2 separate regions of the Homo sapiens genome follow, and region 2 is linked to region 1. The links are contacts of gene promoters, found by promoter capture Hi-C in human tissues and cell types (Jung and others, 2019). All regions are on one chromosome and are shown on one strand. Each heading gives the region's core, a stretch centred on a gene start or on the middle of the fragment in contact. The rest is flanking DNA. Distances are from core to core; before and after follow the strand shown. Region 1 holds the start of FOXK2 (forkhead box K2). Region 2 overlaps NARF (nuclear prelamin A recognition factor).

Region 1 (6,662 bases), core at 658-3,157:
TTCTTTAAAATGCTACTACCAAAGTTTAAGGAATATGCTGGTGCACCTTTCCATGCTAAGAAACAGAACAGCGCATGCACACACACACAACACGCAAGTCAAGAAGAAAAGCAACAGCTCTTACCAGCATCTCCAACAACCGAAAGCGTTAAAAATTCCAATTTGTAGGCCGGGCGCGGTGGCTCACGCCTGTAATCCCAGCACTTTGGGAGGCCGAGGCGGGTGGATCACGAGGTCAGGAGTTCAATACCAGCCTGGCCAAGATGGTGAAACCCCGTCTCTACTAAAAATACAAAAAATTAGCCGGGCGCGGTGGCAGGCGCCTGTAATCCCAGCTACTCGGGAGGCTGGGGCAGGAGAACCACTTGAACTCAAAGGGCGGAGATTGCAGTGAGCCAAGATCGCGCCACTACACTCCAGCCTGAGCGACAAAGTGAGCCTCCGTCTCAAAAAACAAAAAACAAAAAAATTCCAGTTTGTGTGGACAAAGGCTGTACTTGCAATGATCTAGAAGTGAGCCCCTGAGGAATAATTAGCATTTCCTAGACAGCAAGTTTGTGTTTCAAGCAGAGTAAACGATAACTTCATAAAACCACAGGACCAAGCTAAATTGTTTTGTAGCAGGATAGGCAGTTCCCTATCAGGCTGACTTAACACTCTACATGACCTTGTAATAATTCCTAATCAACTGTCTTTTTGTAGAAGTTATGCGAAAAGCATCTAGTTTTCCCTAAATTTTAAGGTTCAGAGCACAGATTGAAAATCCATCATGCTTGAAGCGTCTTCCAATTTGGCCTACTGAAAACACGGCAGGGAAAAAGGAGTCCTTCCTGCTTAAAACACCGCACTCTTGAAACAGCTCACTACTGAAAACGACTGAACAACAACAACAACAAAAGACAACAGACAACCCTTCATCGGTTAAGAGACATAGATTTTAGTTCGGGGCAGTTCCTCCCACCGCACACCGTTTTCACATTTCTGTTCAGCGCGACCTCGCTGCAGAATAGAAACAGCACACGTGAACTCCCCGCACGCACAGAACCCAGAAACCTTGACCCGCGCGCGCAGCCGCCCGCAGCCCCGGCTCCAGGAAGGGGGAAAGACGGGGGGCTGCACCTGCCAGGAAGGGGACCGGGAGGACGGGGGTCGGGGCCAGGGGCTGTCGAGGGTTGGGATCCAGCCGGGGCCTGGGTCCCGCTGGTGGTCCCGGCTGTGGGAGAGTCGGGCCCCCGCTCGTGGGTGGTCCCGGGCCTGGGCGCGTGTCCCGTCCCGTCCTGCCAGGCGCTGCAGGCCGCAGACCCCGCCCGCCCCGCCCCGAGGCCACTCACACGCGCGGCAGCTGCAGCGGCGGCGCCCCGCGCCTCTGGAACACGCCGTCCACGAATACCCCGTTCTTGCCCAAGCAGCGCAGGTAGAAGTCGCCGCCGGCGTCGGGCCTGGGCTGCGCGGGCGGCAGCTCCGGAGCGGCCCCGCCATGGCCGCCGCCGCCCGGGGGCGTGAAGATCTCGAGGTGGCGCCGGGAGATGAAGCTCGAGTGGCCCATGCTCACGTCCACCGAGCCCTGCGACGAGTTGCGGCCGATGGTCACCGAGCGCTTCTTCATCAGATACTCGAACTCGCGGCCCTCCAGGCGCGCCACGGCCCAGCCGCCCGGCGGGGACCCGCCGCCCCCGGCCCCGCCGCCCCCGGCCCCGCCGCCCGCGGGTGGCGTGCCCGCGCCCGAGAGCGCCGCCGCGGCCGCCGCCATGGGCCTGCGTGAGGGCCCCCGGGCCGCTCCGCGCGGGCGCCGGTGGCGCGGGCCGAGGCCCAGGCCGCGCGGGTCGTCGGCCGCCGCGCACCGGAGCTGAGGGAGGGGGCCGAGCGGAGGCCGCCGGCCGGCGAGCGAGCGAGCGGCGGCGAGGGGCGGGAGCACGCGCGGCCGCGCCACCGAGCCGGCACGCCGGGCCCGCCCCTCGCTGACGGACGGTTACGCCGGCCAATGGGGGCGGCGTACGGCAGTGGGGCTACCGAAGCAGGCCAATGGCAAGACACGTCGCACCAAGCTGCCGGCACGTCCGGCGGCGACGCCCGACGCAGTCCCGACTCCGGGCGCCGCGGAAAACCCGGGGCGGACAGTCGGCAGCCCGCGCGGGATCGGGGCTGGCGCGGGGTTGGCGCGGGCGCGGGAGCTCGGGGGTCTGAGCCCGGCCTGGCAGCGCCTTAGGCGCGGCGGGCGGGACCAGGCCCAAGGTCACAGCGGGCGCCAGGCACGCAGCGGCCCCCAACCCGGCGTGGACGCCGGGGTGCGGATAGGCGGCGGCCCGCGAGCCCAGGCCCGGCCGCCGAGCGGCCTTTTCCCCGCGAGGTGCGGGAATATCGCGGAGGGGCCGCGTGCCGCGTGGCCTCAGACCCAGGGGACCCGGTGACACGTTCGTTTTTAACCAGCAGCTCCAGGACTGGATGTCGTTATCTTTCCTGGCTAGCGAGTCATGTCATTGTGTCAAAACTGTCCTGCAAAATACGCAGAAGTTCTGAATCACATTTACTTAACTGTCGTCAGCACACAGTTTAAAAATATACACGAGGCCGGGCGCGGTGGCTCACGCCTGTAAGCCCAGCACTTTGGGAGGCCGAGGCGAGCGGATCACCTGAGGTCAGGAGTTCGAGACCAGCCTAGCCAACATGGTGAAATCCCAGCTCTACTAAAAATACAAAAAAAAAAAAAAAAATAGCCGGGTGTGGTGGTGCACACCTGTAGTCCTAGCTACTCAGGAGGCTGAGGCAGGAGAATTGCTTAAACCTGGGAGGCGGAGGCAGGAGAATTGCTTCAACCTGGGAGGTGGAGGTTGCAGTAAGCCGAGATCGCGTCACTGCACTTCAGTCTGGGCAACAAGAGTGAAACTACGTCTCATATGTATATATATGAACTATATATATGTGAACTATATATATATATATGAACTATATATATATGAACTATATATATATGAACTATATATATGAACTATATACATATATGAACTATATATATATGAACTATATATATATGAACTCTCATGAACGAATAGTTAATATCTTAACCAATCTGATACTAAGTTTTTAAAAAAAGAATTTCGCCACCGTTTAAAAAATTACAAGATCCCATCTAAATCAAGATGATCAATAGTCCAGATGTTCACTAATCAATGAAACTCCTAACATTAAAAAGAAAAAATCCTGTGGCCGGGCGCGGTGGCTCACACCTGTAATCCCAGTGCTTTGGGAAGCCGAGGCGGGTGGATCACAAGGTCAGGAGTTCAAGACCAGCCTGCCCAACATAGTAAAAGCCCGTCTCTACTAAAAATACAAAAATTAGCCAGGCATGGTGGGGCGTGCCTGCAGTCCCAGCTACTTGGGAGGCTGAGGCAGTAGAATCGCTCGAACCTGGGAGGCGGAGGTTGTGGTGAGCAGACATCACGCCACTGCCCTCCAGCCTGGGTGACAGAGGAGACTCCGTCTCAAAAAAAAAAAAAAAAAAAAAAATTGGGAAAAGAAAGAAAAAATCCTGTAAATGTATCTCACGGGTACTTAACCAGTTGTGGAGACGTTCAAGGTTCAGGATCATGAAAAGTCTACAACCTCTTAAACAGGAAGAATTCCGTGGGAAGTCAGTGTCAGCCCTAGAAACCATGGCTTGGGCTCCAAGCGCGCATCTTCGCAAAACTGAAATAGCAACAAATGGTACCAATTTAGTCTCTGCTGGGGAGGGACTGCCCCCTGAATTGTCTCACTTCTTTCAGCATGGTGGTTCCTGCAGGGTGTGTGAGGAGAAGATCCTATTATAGCCTATATATACAGGTTATAGCAAACACCCCAGGGTTCCTCTATTTGCTGCTTGTTAAATAGCAAAGAACAATTAGAAGAGAGAAATGATATAATTTAGGTACAGAGGCCTGGCACGGTGGCTCATGACTGAATCCCAACACTTTGGGAGGCCGAGGTGGGTGGATCACTTGAGGTTAGAAGTTGGAGACCAGCCTGGCCAACATGGTGAATCCACATATCTACTAAAAATACAAATATTAGCTGGGTGTGGTGGCACGTGCCTATAATCCCAGCTACTTGAGAGGCTGAGGCAGGAGAATCGCTTAAACGCGGGAGGCGGAAATTGCAGTAAGCAAGCGGAGATTGCACCACTGCATTCCAGCCTGGGTGACAAAGCCAGACTCTGTCTCGAAAATAATCATCATCATCATAATGTAGGTACAAAAGGAGTTTAGTGTGAGTAGAAAGACTTGAGACTGGACTTAAACGGAGCAGGATAAAGTGGAGATCCTGAACAGGAACCACCAACTGGGGGCCCCAGGCAGGAGACATCAGGGTCAGTTCATGCATTTTTATTCCTTCAATGTGTAAAAACTTTTTCTAAAAGAAATGGAAATTAATGTGTCCCTCTGAATGTAACATTTACATGTCTTTTTTTTTTTTTTTTTTTTTTTTGAGTGGAGTTTTGCCCTTGTTGCCCAGGCTGGAGTGCAATGGTGCGATCTTGGCTCACTGCAACCTCCACCTCCCAGGTTCAAGTGATTCTCCTGCCTCAGCCTCCCAAGTAGCTGGGATTACAGGTGCTCACCACCACGCCTGGCTAATTTTGTATTTTTAGTAGACGAGGTTTCACCCTGTTGGCCAGGATTGTCTCGATCTATTGACCTCGTGATCCACTTGCCTGGGCCTCCCAAAGTGCTGGGATTACAGGCGTGAGCCACCATGCCCGACCTACATTTACATGTCTTAATTGCCATATATGTGTTTGTAATTATAGTACAAATTCCTACAGGTGCAAAGTGTTCTGGCAGGATTTCCTAGACAGAAAAAATTGTTTCATTAAATATTCACTTATATATTAGAGGAATTTTTTTTTCTTTTCCTTTTTTTTTTTTTTTTGAGACAGTCTCACCCTGTTGCCCAGGCTGGAGTGCGGTGGCCCAATCTCTACTCACTGTAACCTCCGCCTCCTGGGTTCAAGCGATTCTCCTGCCTCAGCCTCCCGAGTAGCTGGGATTACAGGCGTGTGCCACCACACCCAGCTAATTTTTATATTTTTAGTAGAGACGGGTTTTCACCATATTGGCCAGGCTGGTCTCGAACTCCTGACCTCCAGTGATCCGCCCGCCTTGGCCTCCCAAAGTGCCAGGATTACAGGTGTAAGCCACCGTGCCCGGCCATATTAGAGGGATTTTAGGGGACATTGAGATGACTATGGAAATGATAAATAGGAAGTGTATCATTTAACCAAAAAAAAAAAAAAAAAACAGGCCGGGTGTGGTGGCTCACACATGTAATCTCAGCACTTTTGGGAGGCCGAGGCAGGCGGATCACTAAAGGTCAGGAATTCAAGACCAGCCTGCCCAACATGGTGAAACCCTGTCTCTACTAAAAATACAAAAAATCAGCTGGGCGTGGTGGCGCATGCTTGTAATCCCAGCTACTCAGGAGGCTGAGGCAGGAGAATTGCTTTAACTAGGAGGCGGTGGTTGCGGTGAGCCAAGATCGTGCCACCGCACTCCAGCCTGGGTGACAGAGTGAGACTTTGTCTCAAAAAAAAAAGAAAAGAAAAAAAGAACAACAAAAAAAGATGGGCAGGCCAGGCATGGTGGCTCACACCTGTAATCCCAGCACTGTGGGAGGCCCAGGTGGGCAGATCACAAGGTCAATAGATGGAGACCATCCTGGCCAATATGGTGAAACCCCATCTCCACTAAAAATACAAAAATTGGCCGGGCACAGTGGTTCACGCCTGTAATCCCAGCACTTTGGGAGGCCGAGGCGGGCGGATCATGAGGTCAGGAGATCGAGGTCATCCTGGCTAACACGGTGAAACCTTGTCTCTTTTAAAAATACAAAAAATTAGCCGGGTGTGGTGGCAGGTGCCTGTAGTCCCAGCTACTTGGGAGGCTGAGGCAGGAGAATGGCGTGAACCTGGGAGGCGGAGCTTGCAGTGAGCTGAGATCTCACCACTGCACTCCAGCCTGGGCAACAAAGCAAGACTCTGTCTCAAACAAGAACAAAAACAAAAACAAAAATTAGGGCCAGGTGCAGTGGCTCACGCCTATAATTCCAGCACTTTGGGAGGCCGAGGCAGGCAGATCACCTGAGGTTGGGAGTTCAAGACCAGCCTGACCAACACAGAGAAACCCTGTCTGTACTAAAAATATACCGGGCGTGGTGGTGGGATTACAGGTGTGTGCACCACTATGCCCAGCTAATTTTTGAATTTTTTCAGAGATGGGGTTTTGCAATATTGCCCATGCTGGTGTCGAAGTCCTGAGCTCCGGCGATCCATCCGCCTCAGCCTCCTCAAGCGCTGGGATTACAGGGGTGAGCCACCGTGCCCAGCCTGTAAATTTTTATTAAGACCAAAAAATTGAATTACATTGGAGACATATCTTTTAATAACATGTCTGGAGCTTTTCCCCGCTGACAATTCACTCATGTATCCACTGATGAAAAGTGCTTATTGCTATAATGAGGCAGGTGTATATAAATATTATCCCTGTTATTTCATTAATGTATACATAGAAATAAATAGAACGAGAGGAAGTTTTATTACAACAACCTAACTCTGATTTTTGAACCTCTTTTGATTGCTGCTGTTACAAGGGAGTTGAAAAGCGATCGCAGAGGACACAGGACTGGGATAC
Region 2 (6,973 bases), core at 2,139-4,638, 38 kb after region 1:
TGGTCTCGATCTCCTGACCTCATGATCCGCCCGCCTCGGCCTCCCAGAGTGCTGGGATTACAGGCACGAGCCACCGCACCCGGCCAAGAACACTTTCTAATGTAAGTTTGGAATGTCAGCAAAATAAAAGGTCTGAATAAACACAAAAAAGTCCTTTTGATTTTGACTAGTGTAAACTCCATCCATAGAACCGCCACATGCACAGATCCATACAGGCACACCATGCACACGTGCTAACCACAGGCACAGACAGGCTGTGGATACTGCCCCACACCTCAGGGCTCGGTAAGTGACCTCCTCCACATCCTCGTTGAACAGCTCCTTGGCCGCATGTCTGAAGATGTGTGCCAGGTGCCCGTCTGAGCTGGCTCCATCATGACGCGTCACTTTGTCCTCCTTCAAGTCTCCAAACCTCACAAGGCAGAGAAAATACAAGTCCTTCATGAATGCTGACGTACAGTGACAGAAAGAGTGAAACCAGACTTCCTGAGGGCATCACAATCCAAGTTCGCCACCAAAGAAGCTAAATCCTGTACAGATGTTTAAACTTTGCAGAAAGTCCCATTCTAGCATCTTGAGGGGTCTTGGGAGGGCCTGCCTGATGCTCGGGCAAGGCGGAGGACTCTCAGTCACGCCGAGCCCATGCACAGGCTCTTGCAGGTGCTCCAGATGCTTATGGTCTTTTTCTTTTGGAGACAGGGTCTTGTTCTGTCTCTCAGGCTGGAGTGCAGTGGCACAATCATAGCTCACTACAGCCCCAGCCTCCTGGACTCAAGTGATCCTCCTACCTCAGCCTCCCAAAGTACTGTGATTATAGGTGTGAGCCACCACGCCTGGCCCCACAGATGCTTAAATTCTGTAAACTTCTATCTTACCTTCCCCCAAAAGGGCACGAATGCAGCACCTGGGATGCGGACTGTTGGCGAGGACACACGCTGCTGCCTTTGTGGTGCTCTCTGCCCAGTGCCTGGGGTGCAGCAGGAGCCCTGGGCCTTGCTGGGTATCGAGGTCACCGCCCCCAGCAGAACCCAGACTGCCACTCTTGGTGCAAAGGGGCCTGAGGGAGCTGCCCCACTGCCCCATAGACCACACGGAATGTGAGGCACAGACGGCACTCAGGAAGAAGGGGGCTGGTGCACACATGAACAGCCCTGCGCCAGCGAGGACAAAGCTGTTTGTGCATTTTGTCCTTCCTCAAGGGTTTAGGGTGGCAATCACACCATGGAAGCCCGCCAAACCTTCAACTCCCTGGCAGCCCTGGTGAATGGTATCCCATTCAACAGCTATAGGGTGGCTGAGGGTTGTGGCAGGGGCCTGGGGGACTGCATCGCAGTGCTTCACATGGCCTCGTCATAAAGCAGGGCAGCCCTGGGCCTGGCAGGTGGCTGGCAGGGCTGACGAGAGGTCCTGCCCCCCAGAGGACTCTCCCCAGAGAAGCCACTTACAGAGTGTCGACGGCAGCATCTCTCACTGAGAGGTCACCTTGCTCCATTATTTGAGCAATTTCACCTGCAGACAAACGAAGTAAGACACTGAAAAGACACAGGTGGCCACAGGAACTTTTCTTCCCCTGCAGGAGATTTGACATTAGTGACCCTGGGTGACCTCCCTCTTATGAAATCTCCATCACACACAGCAGGAGTCCATCTAAAGGGCAAAGTGAGGCCAATAAAATGAAACACTAATAAAACGTAAGCAGAATTCAATTCTAACTCCTCTTTCCATTCCTCTTTCTGCCCTTGAACTGTGGGATTTATGTAAACAATCTCTCCATGATTTTCCCATGTGGAAAATCTGTAAACTTTTTTGGCCTACTTTGCATGAAACAAACAGAAAACTTTTGTGTATAACAAGCTCACAGAGATAGGATGATGAAATATACACTGGTTGCATTTTTTTTTTTTTGAGATGGAGTCTCACCTCCGCCGCCCAGGCTGGAGTCCAGTGGTGCAATCTTGTCTCGCTGTAACCTCTGCCTCCCGGGTTCAAGTGATTCTCTTGCCGCAGCCTCCTGAGTAGCTGTGATTACAGGTGTGCACTACCACGCCTGGCTAATTTTTGTATTTTTAGTAGAGACGGGGGTTTCACCATGTTGGCCAGACTGGTCTCGAACTCCTGACCTCAGGTGACCAGCCTGCCTCAGCCTCCTGAAGTGCTGGGATTACACGTGTCAGCCACTGCACCCAGCCCTTTTTTTTTTAAGAAACAAGGTCGCCAGTCTAGCCAACATGGCGAAACCCCCTCTCTACTAAAAACACAAAAATTAGCCTGGTGTGGTGGGGCGCACCTGTAATCCCAGCTACTCGGGAGGCTGAGGGAGGAGAATCGCTTGATCCTAGGAGGCGCGGAGGTTGTAGTGAGCCAAGATGGAGCCACTGCAGAGCCTGGGTGACAGAGTGAGACTCCGTCTCAAAAAATAAAAAAAAAGAGACGAGGTCTCACTGTGTTGCCCAGCAAGGTCTCAAACTCCTGGGCTCAAGTGATCCTCCAGCCATAGCCTCCTGAGTGGCTGGAATTAGAGGTCTGAGCCATTGTACCCAGCTACATTTATATGACAATTGTTTATTCTGCAATGAGATCAACTGAAAGTGAGAACCACTTTCTGTATTTCCTTTTACATGAGGATGCCTGAAAAAACCCTTAATAGAAAAACTGAGCCTCTAAAACTATGGCTGTGGCATCACATTAGATGCTGTGAGATGGCTGGAAACACAGGTAAGAAAATAGCGTAATTTCCTATAAATCTGCACTCAGAAAAAAGATGGCTGGACATGGTTCTTCTGACAGCCCACCGCGCATGTTTTATTTTGTCAACGTAAGCAGATGGCCCCTGGGCCCTTCCTCTGAGAGTGAAGGATGGCCGTGCTGAGGACCCTTCTATCCCTCATCCTTCAACACCCCTGCCACATCACCCCACAGGGAGCCTGTGCCTATGGGGTGGGGACCTTTCCAGAGGCGTCTGCGTGCTAGAATTTCAAGTCAGGGGCCTGTGAGGGACATTGGCGCCCTTAAAGATTGTCCCTGAGAGCTGACCTCTCTGCCTCATCTACCACTGATCTAAATACCTGCAGGGACCTGTTTTCAGAGACCAATTAAAACAGTTCCGCCAGAATTTTAACAAAGTCTTAAGCTTCCCCCACCAACTGATGTCAACATTCTTCTGAATGGGTTCTACATAATTCCAGGGAATCACTTCCATCCACAACACACACAGAACTCACTGTAGGCTCTTAACATCTGAAAGGAGTGGCCAATACCGTGGTAAAGGCAATATCACTGGAGCAAACGTGCCTTTTTCATTTTATTCTGAATGAAAAAAACTTCACTTGTGTTTTAAGTGCAGACTTGGTTTGTGATTAGGAGACCCGCTATGGCTATAGACAACTTTCCCACCAAGAGATAAGTACCTTACATGGACTGTAATGTAAAGTTAGGGCCACCACACTGCCCAAGTGGTTCTCCCAGGACCTGATTTATCTTTTTTTTTTTTTTTTGAGACAAAGTTTTACTCTTGTTGCCCAGGCTGGAGGGTAATGGCGCGATCTCGGCTTACTGCAACCTCTGCCTCCCGGGTTCAAGCGATTCTCCTGCCTCAGCCTCCCGAGCAGCTGGGATTACAGGCATGTGCCACCATGCCCGGCTAGTTTTTTGTAGTTTTAGTAGAGACGGGGTTTCTCCATGTTGGTCAGGCTGGTCTCGAACTCCTGACCTCAGGTGATCCACCTGCCTTGGCCTCCCAGTGCTTAGATTACAGGCGTGAGCCACTGTGCCCAGCTGAGACCTGATTTATCTTGAGGAAGATGCACAGAGGAGACAGGAGGCTAGATCGAACATGACCCTTCTCTTCACCTGCAGTTAAGCCCCTAGGACCCTCAGCTGTCAGTAACTTCAGACAAGCGACCACATTGGCAGGCACTGAGATGGCTCTGGGACACAGATCTGCCTGGCTCTGGTGTGTACTGGCCAGTAGGAGATTACCCCAGCGCCCAGGTGCACCCCCGCCCACCTCTCACCTGATGTTAACACGCAGTCAGCGCCCCGGGAGCCATGCAAAGCAGGGGGAAGGCTTTCCTGAAGAGCCTCCAGCTTCTTGTCATAACAAGGGGCCACAATGACGTGGAAAATCTTCTCTGGAGACAGGTTCTGTGGGAGAGGGGCACCCATATTTAGGGCTGGTGAAGAGGTGACGGCAGCTTACGCTTGGTGCCCAGAACAAGAGGGATGGGAGACCGAATGCCCCCTGCTGCTGCCCTCCAGACACTGCATGCTGCACTCTTTTTTTTTTTTTTTTTTTGAAATGGAGTCTTGCTCTGTCACCAGGTTGGAGTGCAGTGGCGTGATCTCAGCTCACTGCAAACTCTGCCTCCCGGGTTCAAGCGATTCTCCTGCCTCAGCCTCCCGAGTAGCTGGGACTACAGGCGCATGCCGCCACGCCTGGCTAATTTTTTGTACTTTAGTAGAGATGGGGTTTCACCGTGTTGCCCAGGCTGGTCTCAAACTCCTGAGCTCAGGCAATCTGCCCGCCTCGGCCTCCAAAGTACTAGAATTACAGGCGTGAGCCATCGAGCCTGGCTGCATGCAGCACTTTCTTGGGGCTGGGACTGTTGTGGGTCTGAGGCCGGGCCCCACAGATGAAAGTGCTGTAGCCACATCTGGCTCCCATCCCCTCTTCAACTCTACCGAGCACCAGCACTCCATCCATGTCTGTCTGCTGCCTCCCTCAGGACTGGGTGTGGTCCTCCCAAACATCTGCAAAGCCCCCCAGCCAGTGGAGCCTCCTGGAAGAACCGGGAAGGCTGAGCCCATTTCCTCCTGAACCTGTGCACATGGGGACAAAACAAGTAAGAGGAAGTCCAGCCGGCGTGGAGCTGTTGCTGGTCCAGCATGGAGCCATTGCAGGAGGCCTGAGTGAGTGTGTGTGTGTGTGTGTGTGTGCGCGCGCTGGCTACTTCACCCACAGACTTTCCTGAATCTTCCCAAGCGATGCCCACCCAAGCTACCCCTCTCCTGGGTCCACACAGAGCAGGTGCCTGTGGCTGGGCCTGAACTGGTGGCAAAGCCAGGAGCCAGCAGTTGCCAAGTGACCCTGTGGTGAGGTCTGGGTGGAAAGGACCCACTCAGGGCAGGGGCGGAGCAAAAGAGGAAACCCGCCCCTGGTTGCAGCTGTGCCAGGTGGTCAGGTGAGAGGCTGCTGGAGGCCGGGTCTCTGCGGCTGCCCCTCATGGCACCTACAGGAGGACACATAGCTCTGGGCTCCATCCAGGGGAGAGGGCAGCACGTGGAAGACCTAGAAACACATGGCTCTCTTCAGGTGGGGGCAGGGCAAGGGACAGAAAGTCCCATAGCTCATTTTTCGGTCCTGCCTAAACTGAACGTGTATACTCTGACATCATGTTTATAATTTGCCAAATTATGACTTTATGGGTAGAAAGAAACTAGATAGAAGGAAAACACTGCCTATTGCTAAAATAACAAGGCTGCCAAATGTGCGTGCCTTTTTAGGCTGACTTCAAATGTCTGAAAGATCCTGATGTTACCCTCTACTCCAGTTACCACAGTGCCTGGACATGGCTGCTTCCCCGGAGGGAGGTGTAAAGTCTGATTGAGAAGAGCAGTGTGGGGCATGCCAGCGGCTGGAGAATAAACCATGGGATTAGGGTCCCTTTGAGGGTGGCCTTGGAGACATCAGGGAGTTCTGGGAGGACCTGGGGGCCGCAGAGGGTTGTGGGAAGGGAGAACACGACGGGCCGAGGCAGGGGGCACGCAGGAGCCTCAGGCCGGGACTCACTCCATCAAGAGGAGGACAGCATCATGGCCACTGTGGAATCTCACAGAAGTGGCTAAGGAAGTCATGTGATGCCCGTGGTCTGAGGGAAAGGCCAGGGCAGAGGCCAGGTTTGGCTCCCTAAATGACAGCTGCCCTCAGCCTCCAGGCACAGGCCACTTTAGGCCTCCTTGGGTGAGGCATCCCAACAGCAGGCAGGCAGCATCTCTGGGCAAGGTCCGGGGCCTCATTCTCAGCAGGGTGGGCAGCATTTCTACTCTACCCCGAATGGGCCCAGGAAAACCACCAGATGCCACAGAAAAGGTTAAGAAGAAAGAAAAAGGTTGTAAGAGGAAGGGAGGAATAGAGACGGGCGTTGGTGAGAAACAGCACTGCTGATGTTTCCTGAAGCCACAGCTTCCTTTTTGCTCACCTGGGGGGCCGTGACCACGCTGGACAGATGGGGAACCTCCCCTTCCTGGGCCCCTGTGCCATGGTCCTCCCTCACCTGCCCTTCCTGCCCTCCAGAGAGGTCAGCTTACCTGCTGTCTGGCGAAATAATCCTTCACCAAAGAGCCCATGACCTGCTGGGGGGACTTGGCGGTGCAGAGGTGGGCAGTGATGGGGCGACCCAGCACCCGCTCGGCGTATCGGACCCAGCCTGGGGAGAGAAGGGATCCACGGTCAGCTCCTTACTGCTTCCTCTGGTCTTCCTGTAACGCACCAGGGAATGCTGAGCTCGAGTCCCTGCCGCCCCAGGGTGAAGCCAGAACACCTTTTCCCCAGGCCTTACCAGGAGCTCGTGCTGGACCCAAAACCCGTCCTCGGTGGCCCGGCTGTGGGTCATGGGAACCTGCAGGCCTGGAGGCTACTGGGAAATGGGAGCATCCCTGCAAGGCCGACAGACAAGTAAGAGTCGGAGTAACAGGTCCCCCAAAAAGGTGAAGGGGAACAAGCACTGAAAGGCAGCAGGAGCAGCGGCCCAGGCTGCACCGTGCAAAATCGCCTGGCCAGCTACAGCGTCCTTACAGCCAGGACACGCAGCTACCGCTCAGGGGAGAGCAGCCACATGCTTGCCCAACTTCTCTCACCGGCGAGAAACTAACAGCCCAACAACTGCACGCTTTTTAAAATATAAGAAATCTATACTCCTCAAGTCGTAATAAATAGCAACATCTGTAGTGTCACTACATGCCCGCACAATCTGAG

What was found. Contacts are between HindIII fragments. The study calls those that stand out against the background at their distance.
Region 2: a contact is called between a fragment that was not itself captured here and the fragment with the promoter of FOXK2 in region 1, in 1 of the 25 tissues and cell types used here (spleen).

What each region holds. Positions count from the first base shown.
Region 1 is chr17:82,514,977-82,521,638 of GRCh38, reverse strand. FOXK2 (forkhead box K2) reads right to left here and starts at 1,907. Exons shown (of 9, transcript NM_004514.4): 1 at 1,332-1,907. The coding sequence starts at 1,750. RefSeq lists silencers at 1,068-1,117, 1,198-1,377, 1,828-2,487. The HindIII fragment of the contact is 19,651 bases long and covers 1-6,662 here.
Region 2 is chr17:82,478,252-82,485,224 of GRCh38, reverse strand. It overlaps NARF (nuclear prelamin A recognition factor), which reads right to left. Exons shown (of 11, transcript NM_012336.4): 6 at 6,307-6,425; 7 at 4,014-4,143; 8 at 1,446-1,509; 9 at 275-412. Among named protein-coding and RNA genes, the nearest start is that of TRX-CAT1-8, 13 kb to the left of the region's middle. The HindIII fragment of the contact is 4,020 bases long and covers 1,379-5,398 here.